Linked DNA regions of Homo sapiens: regions 2 and 3 are each linked to region 1. Evidence: promoter capture Hi-C in 16 types of primary human blood cells and fetal thymus (Javierre and others, 2016). All regions are on one chromosome and are shown on one strand. The core of a region is centred on a gene start or on the middle of the fragment in contact, and the rest is flanking DNA. Distances in the headings are between cores, read along the strand shown. Region 1 holds the start of RABGEF1 (RAB guanine nucleotide exchange factor 1). Region 2 has its middle 46 kb from the start of LINC03011. Region 3 has its middle 56 kb from the start of KCTD7.

Region 1 (2,662 bases), core at 81-2,580:
TCTCCTGCCTCAGCCTCCAGAGTAGCTGGGACTACAGGTGCCCGCCACGATGCCCGGCAAATTTTCTTTTTCTTTTTTTTTTTTATTTGTAGTAGAGACGGGGTTTCACCGTGTTAGGGAGGATGGTCTCAAGCTCCTGACGTCATGATCCGCCTGCCTTGGCCTTCCAAATGCTGGGATTACAGACGTGAGCCACCGCACCCGGCCGGAACACACTCTTTAACAGCAGTTAAAGCCGCGCAATGGCTCACGCCTATAATCCCAACACTCTGGGAGGCCGAGGCGGGAGGATCACTTAAGGCCAGGAGTTTCACACCTGCCTGGGCAACACTGTGAGATCCCATGTCGAAAAAAATAATAAATAAAAACAAAGCAGTTCTAGGTTTAGAGGGGGGAAAGCAGCTCTCCAGGCCAAAAACCAACTCCCAAGGTGCTCCGGTAAACTCGTCCTGGGAAAATTTCCTACCTAATCTCAAAGGCAAAACGAGCCCACGGGCGCCCACGACACATTTCCCAACCGCAAGGATTGGTCACCCGCGCTGAGACACCGCCAGCTGCCTATGACCTAGCCTCCAAAGCGGCAGAGTCCCTCCCTCTCTCTCCCTAAACTGCCGTGATGGGCATCCCTCGGCTCTCCTCCCAGACGGTTCGGAAGCAGGGACTTCTGCTCCTAACCCCGGCCCCGCAGCCTCGCCCTCAGCCACGGGGTGGAAGTCAGGACCACAGGCTTCAAATCCCCTCCCAACTCCGGGACACTTCTGCCCCCTAGGGTGACGTGGGATCAAGTCCCCGCGCCCCTGCCGCGGCCGGGGGCTGTGGTCTGGGTCCGAGCGTCCCATACCAGCGCTTTCCGGGGAGGTTGTGGGAGGGGCCCCGTGCGACCACAGACGCTGCTTCGGAGCCAGCGGCCTGGACGGAAGGTGGGAGCCGGGGCGAGGGGAGCCGCCGGAGAGGGAGGCGGCCAGGAAATGCTCCGCGTCAGGCCGTCGGGGCTCGGCTGGCGCTGGAGATCCCGGCAACTAGCGTCTGGGACGGAGAGGCCGCACTCTGAGGATTAAGGGAGCCGAGGGCGGCCTGGAACGGGGAAGGCGGCGCTGACGGAGACGGAATGTGGGACGAAGGACAGCGGGAGGCACCGACGCGCAACTGCCCCAGCCGCGCGGATGGCACGGACCGACCGCCCTGCCACCCCCAGCCCGAGACGCCCCGCCGCCCCGCTCCTGTAGCTGAGAGCCGAGCAGCTCTCAGCCCCAGTCCGTCCGCTCCGTACCTCGCCCGCGTCTCCGCCGGCGTCCAAACCACCGCTCGCCCGCTTCGCCCGGGTAGGTCTGGGCTCCGCGGCCAGCTCCCGCCTCACACCCACCCTCCTGCTCGCCCCGCCCCCGGCACCGCCAGCGAACGCACGTTACGCGCGGCGCGTAAACGTCACTTCCGGGGCCTTTGACTCTGGACGGGAGGAAGTGCGAGTGGATCCAAAGGGTCGAGCGGAGTGGGGTACCGCCCTGACGCCCAAGAGCAAATGGAAGAGGGCGGCCTCCGGGGTAAAGGTGGGGCGCTGGGGAGCCCCGGAGAAACCGGCGTTTCCTAGTCTGTCGCTCAGTCCCTGCTTCCGGCTTCCGACGCGCAACAGCTGGAGGGCGACGCTGGCTCCGCGGCGACTCCTGGGGCTGCGGCCGCGGTGGTAGCGCGAATGGGAGGTGGAGCGGAGCTACTGCGCCGAGGGACGCTTCAGAAACTCTGTTTCAGTCCTTCGCGGATCCTAGGATGTGACAGGTGTTCGAGTTAAAAGGTCTTAAGGCGATCGGTTGATCCAAAAGCAGCTGAATCTTTAGGAGGCCCAGGCAGGAGGATCGCTTGAGTCCAGGAGTTCGAGACCAGCCTGGGCCACAGAGCAAGGTCACCATCTCTACAAAAGAAATTTTACAAATCAGCCGGACATGATGGCGGGCACCTGTGGTCCCAACTACCAGGGAGGCTGAGGTGGGAGGATCGCTTGATAGCCCAGGAAGTTGACGGTGCAGAGATCCCTCCACTGAACTCCAGGCCGGGTGACAGCAGAGCGAGATCCTGTCTCAAAAAAAACATAACCGACATCCAGAAGTGAAATAAATTAGCCAGTGTCACAAAGTATTAATGGTTGAGTCACAAATTGAATCCTGTTTACCTGATTCTTTACGTGATTCCCATGTAAGGAATGTTAAAAACAGTAAATACTAATTCCTCTGCGTCCTGAATGCCATGTATGGCGTAACGTGCAGTCACAGCAAGAAAAAAAAGAAAATACTATGCTGTGGCTGTGAGATAGACCTGGGTTAAAATCCCAGCTTTGCTAATTGTCGCTGTAGTGTTCTTGGACAGGTTGCGTAATTTTTCAGTCTATTTTTTTTTTTTTTTTTTTTTTTTTTGAGACTCTCACTCTGTCGCCCACACTGGAGTTCAGTCGTGCGATCTCGGCTTACTGCAACCTCCGCCTCCTAGGTTCAAGCGATTCTCCCACCTCAGCCACCCAAGTAGCTGGAATTACAGGCACCCGCCACCACGCCCAGCTCATATTTTTTTTTTTGTATTTTTAGTCGAGACAGGGTTTCACCATGTTGGCCAGGCTGGTTTTGAATCCTGACCTCAAGTGATCCGCCCACCTTGGCTTCCCAAAGTGCTAGGA
Region 2 (2,662 bases), core at 85-2,584, 200 kb after region 1:
CTCAGGTGATCCGCCCGCCTCAGCCTCCCAAAGTGCTGGGATTATAGATGTGAACCACCATGCCCGGCCTCCCCGACAGTAGCTATAGAAAGAAGGCTTAGTCTTAAAGATAGTTTCCCCTAAATCTGTTGCTTTCAGCCCACAGTGCCACGCCTCTGTCTTCTCCTATTCCGGGACAGAGCAAGACTCAAAGTCAGAGCTCTACGAAGCTTGCAGGATAGAAAGAAGCTTAGCAGGCCCCTCAAAGATGAGGCCCAGGCCGGGTGGAGAGGCCGAGGTGGGTGGATCACTTGAGGTCAGGAGTTCCAGACCAGCCTGGCCAACATGGTGAAACCGTGTCTCTACTAAAAATACAAAAAATTAGCTGGGTGTGGTGGTGTGTGCCTGTAATCCGAGTTACTCAGGAGGCTGAGGCAGGAGAATCCCTTGAACTGGGAGGTGGAAGCTGCAGTGAGCTAAGATCGCGCCACCGCACTCCAGCCTGGGTGACAAAGCAAGACTCCGTCTCAAGAAAAAACAAAAAACATGGGACCCCAAACTCACTATGCCAAAGGGAAATGTTAAGCTTGGGAACTGAGTCATTCAATAGCCTTTTGTCCCTAAGCAGATGGCTGTAAGACAGAAGGTCACCTATCTCCCGGGTGGCTTCCCTCACCCTGGTCATGTAAATTCACAGCTTATCTTCACAGGCAGGGGACAAAGACAAGAATAGAAATTATCGCTCTGTCCACCCAAGACAAATACGTATTTAACTTCCTCTATTCTGTTTACATTATCTTATGTAAAATGCAGATTTACTGAGCACAGGATGAATACATCATTAACTATTCCTCTTCTTTTATTTTTTTATTTTTTGAGACAGTCTCACTGTTTTCCAGGCTGGAGTGCAGTGGCATGATTTTGGCTCACTGCAACCTCCGCCTACTGAGTTCGAGTGATTCTTGTGCCTCAGCCTCCAGAGTAGCCAGGATTACAGGCACCCGCCACCACGCGTGTTGAATTTTTTGTATTTTTAGTAGAGATGGGGTTTCATTATGCTGCCCATTATGCTCCTGACCTCAGGTGATCCACCTGCCTTGGCCTTCCAAAGTGCTGGGATTACAAGCGTGAGCCACTGTGCCCAGCCCCCCTCTTTCCCCTTTAAATACCAAAGTCCTCAAAATCCTCTCTGGAAAAAAGCACAGGCCACAGACCCTATTGCAGCTTGAGTCTCTTTTTCCTGGCTGTGTCCTCCACCATGGCAAAATAAATCTCTAAATCGATTGAGACCTGTTTCAGGCACTTTCTGGTTTACATGGCCCATGGGAGCCTATAGCAGGGAGGGCTTCCCAGAGGAGGTGACCACCACACGGGGCCCAAAGCTCCAAGGATGTGGGCTCATCTGCACTCTGGGGCTCATCACACAGACCTCCAAGGCAGTTGGGAGCGGCAAGTAAGACACAAGGAAACTTGTAGTATCCTGTAATTTCAGGTGCTTAACACTCATTAGCCAATCAGGAAACTTCCCCTGTTCCTTCCAAGTCTTGCCTGGTCTGGGGAGAAGTGCAACCCTAAACCAGGCTGCGGCTAACCAGCAGTGACACTACGGGGCAGTCAATAGCACACTATGGCAGCTCTACGTGAGACACAGGTCCCAGGCGGTGAACCAGAAGTGGCGGGAGTGTGCGTGTCAGGAAAGTGGGGCTGGGCTGGCTGAGGGGGCTGGCGGTTTGGGGAGGCGTCCTGACCACCTCCAGAGTGTGGGAGGGGTGGAGTGGGTCTAAATGCCTTTGTCAATAACACCAGGAACTGACCAGATGTAGTGGCTCATGCCTGTAATCCCAGCACTTTGGGAGGCTGAGGCCAGGAGTTTGAAACCAGTCTGGGGAACATGGCAAGACCCTGTCTCTACAAAAAAACAAACAAACAAAAATTAGCTGGGCATGGTAGTGTGTGCCTGTAATCCCAGCTACTTGGGAGGCAGAGGTGGGAGGATCGCTTGAGCCTGGAAAGTCAAGGTTGCAGTACGCCATGATTGCACCACTGCACTCCAGCCTGGGCAACTGAGCTAGACCCTGTCTCAAACTAACAACAAACAAATTAAAAAATAAAAAACAAGCTTGGCCATATTACGTGCAGACACTGTGCAAAGCCCACAGTATACCTTGTCCGTGGGATTCTCTAGCTCAGTCAACAAGCTCTGGAAGAACACTGATTTTTCTCTGTAGCTGCTCTTGCATTTTCCTACCTCTTTATTTAATTTAGAGGAAAGAGGATTACTTTTTTTTTTTTTTTTTTTTGTTAGAGACAGGGTCTTGCTGTCATTCAGGCTGGAGTGCAGTAGCTGGGGCTACAGGTGCAGGCCACCACACCCAGCTAATTTTTCCATTTTTTGTAGAGATGGGATCTTGCCATGTCGCCCAGGTTACATTTTTTTAAATCATGAGTTTCTGAAGGAAATGGGGTAGGGCAGGCTCTGGTAGGGGCTGGATTGTTCGAGCTCCTGCTTGAATTCCTGCATACACTGGGGAAAAGGGGGATCCCCAGGGCCAGGGATGGGGAAGGTCCCTGGCTCATTAGACAGGAAGGCAATCTTGATTCTAACCCCTAATGCTGTGTGGTGTATGGAAAGTCACTCAACCTCTCTGTTTCCTAATTTGAGACTCTGGGCCTGCTGGGTCTA
Region 3 (2,662 bases), core at 72-2,571, 170 kb after region 1:
AATAGTGGGCTCAGCAATCAAGATTCCCTACCCTCTGGAGCCTTCCTGTGTATCCAGCATCACAGTTCATCACACGCCCAGTGCTCTGGCTACATTCAGCTTGTTGTGAAGCAAACCACAGGCTTGCACATTTGTAGTTCCTTCTTCCTGGAATGTCCTTTCACTTAGAATCCTAGTCAGCCTTATTACTCAGACGTGGTGGTGTGCACCTATAGTCTCAATAACTTGGAAGGCTGAGGGATGAAAATTGCTTGAACTCGGGAGGCAGAGGTTGTAGTGAGCTGAAATCGTACTATTGCACCCCAGCCTGGGTGATGGAGTGACACTCTGTCTCAATAAAAAACAACAAAAAAAAGGATCCTATTTATCCTTTAAGACCCCACCCAAACATCACCGTTGTAAAGCCTTATCAGCTCCCCCCAGCAGATTGCGTTGTTCTTTCCTGTGTTCTCACAGCACTCAACTTTTACTCTCTGATGTAGCAGCTGTCCCATTCTGTAGCAGTTGTTTACTTACCTTTTCGTCTGTTCCAGCCTTGAGCTTGTTAGGGAAAAGGACTAGACTTTATTTATTTCACTGAGCTTGTTGGGGAAAAGGACTAGACTTGATTTCTTTCATGTAACCTAGAGCAGTTGCTGAATGAGCATGAGAGGATCCCATTTGAAATCTGTAGTGCATGAAGAGCCGTCCATCCTGTAGCTATGTGAGACCTCAGACTGATTTGGCATATTTAGTCTCTAGGTCTAAAATCTTTAGATCCTCCTGAATTAATGGAGTAATAACCTTCAGGTATAGAGAAATCTTGGAGAATATCTAGATCATTCTAATCCTCTCTTGAATTGCAGACTCCAGCGGGAGGAAGAAGAGGCCTTTGCCAGCAGTCAGAGCAGCCAAGGGGCCCAATCCCTCACATTCTCCAAGTTTGAAGGAAAGAAAACCAACAAGAAGACCCGCAAGGTTACCACAGTGAAGAAATCTTCAGTACGTCTTCCAGGGTCGGATCAAAGAAGGGTAATGTTGTGATACTCTTTTTTTTCTTCTCTGCCTGAGTGAGACACAGAGGAGATCCCCAATGCTCATAGGCTCAGCTTTGTAATTTCTGTCAACTTTTTGAGAACATCAGCTCAGATTTGACACTGAAATTGGGTTTGAGGGTCAGACAGTATATGAAACCAATACTCTCTTTGGTTGAAAGATATTGTGTTTTAGAGAAATTTGTTTACTTTATAGGAGGAATAAAGAGAATTGAAATAGGTAGTTTTGTTTATGAAATTCATCCCCATCCAAATGACTATCTCTTTGGATGATTTGGTTTTTGCGCCTTTTATTTGTGGATCCTGGTTTGTTCTGTAGTATCATACCCTCATTGTTCATAGCTTGTCAGAAATGGCAATTTCTAGCCTTGAAGGTCATCTGAGAGATTTTCTGCCTGAGAGCTTATTTGAGAGACAGCTTGTGTCATGAGGAATTGTATTGAGAACATATAGGAAAAGGCCCACATTGGGCTCCTGGAGGGATGAAAGTGAGCCATAGTAGCTATTTTCCAGTGCATGGATTTGTATGTAGGTGATCATATTCACTCGGCTTCTTAAAATGCCATATAACCATCAAGAGGATTGTCACTTAAGTCACAGTTGTTCTACCATTGAGCAGACAACCCAGTTGAAGTGGCCCAATATGAAGCAAGAAAGAATCTCTGTTGTTAGGCCTTGGTCTCTGAAAATTTATGTTGGTACTCGGTCTTTGAAAATTTATGTTGAGTTATGCAGTGAATGTGAAATAATGAGGGAGACTGGGAACCAACACTGATGCTGTCAGAAAACCTGTTCTCTGGGAGCCCCCTCACTTGCTCCCCAGTTCTTACCCTGGGGTAATTGTAATGAGATCTTCTCCCCTGGAGGCAGGGGAATGAATAATAAGACAGTTTTTATCCCTTAAGATCCTTGCCAGTCCTCTAGGTTTTGTGACTTTTGCTGTTTTCTTTTGGTTTATTGTAAGGAAATAAAAGGAAATATTGCATATAACCAAAAACATACTTCTCTTTAAGACATGGATACCAGGTGTGGTGGCTTACACCTATAATCTCAGCACTTTGGGAGGCCACGACGGGTGGATCACCTGAGCTCCGGAGTTTGAGACCAGCCAGGGCAACATGGTGAAACCCCGTTTCTACAAAAAATAAAAAAATTATCCAGGCACAGTGGCATGTGCCTGTAGTCTCAGCCTGGGTGACAGAGCAAGACCCTGTCTCAAAATTAAAAAAAACAAAAAAAATAATAAAATAAAAAGAAAAGAAAAAAGAAAGATTGATTAGCTTTAAGTAATAAATCTTTGTTCACATGATTAATTTGAAGTTGTTTCTTGGTTGGCTGCCAGTTGTAGCTATTTTGTCTCTACTAAAAAGGGGGAAAAATTAGTACCTGCCAGAGATTAAATAAGAATGTATTCAGCTCATGATTTATCTATTAGGAGGTGAAATTTCCAGGTGGTTAGTCAGGTGACTTTGCAGTCATTCCTGGTTTGAGTCCTAGTTTTGTCATTTACCAGCTTTGTGACCCTGGGTGGACTAACCACTCCAAGTCTTGTCCACACTGAGGGACAGTAATACCTATCAGAGACATGTGATGAGGATTTCATGAGTTGACACATGTACAGAGCTTAG

What was found. The method cuts DNA at HindIII sites, captures the fragments that hold promoters and counts their contacts. A CHiCAGO score of 5 or more calls a contact.
Region 2: a fragment that was not itself captured here is called in contact with the fragment with the promoter of RABGEF1 in region 1 in 2 of 17 cell types (naive CD8 T cells and naive CD4 T cells); the score reaches 5.3 in naive CD8 T cells.
Region 3: a contact is called between a fragment that was not itself captured here and the fragment with the promoter of RABGEF1 in region 1, in 2 of 17 cell types (non-activated CD4 T cells and naive CD4 T cells). The highest score is 6.5, in non-activated CD4 T cells.

The regions. Positions count from the first base shown.
Region 1 is chr7:66,739,401-66,742,062 of GRCh38, reverse strand. It overlaps RABGEF1 (RAB guanine nucleotide exchange factor 1), which reads right to left and starts at 1,330. Exons shown (of 9, transcript NM_014504.3): 1 at 1,271-1,330. RefSeq lists silencers at 1,107-1,246, 1,267-1,536 and enhancers at 987-1,653, 1,667-1,716. The HindIII fragment of the contact is 9,271 bases long and covers 1-2,662 here.
Region 2 is chr7:66,538,086-66,540,747 of GRCh38, reverse strand. It overlaps the pseudogene LOC100420547 and the pseudogene RABGEF1P1. Among named protein-coding and RNA genes, the nearest start is that of LINC03011, 46 kb to the right of the region's middle. The HindIII fragment of the contact is 1,533 bases long and covers 568-2,100 here.
Region 3 is chr7:66,571,734-66,574,395 of GRCh38, reverse strand. It overlaps the pseudogene RABGEF1P1. Among named protein-coding and RNA genes, the nearest start is that of KCTD7, 56 kb to the left of the region's middle. The HindIII fragment of the contact is 4,526 bases long and covers 1-2,662 here.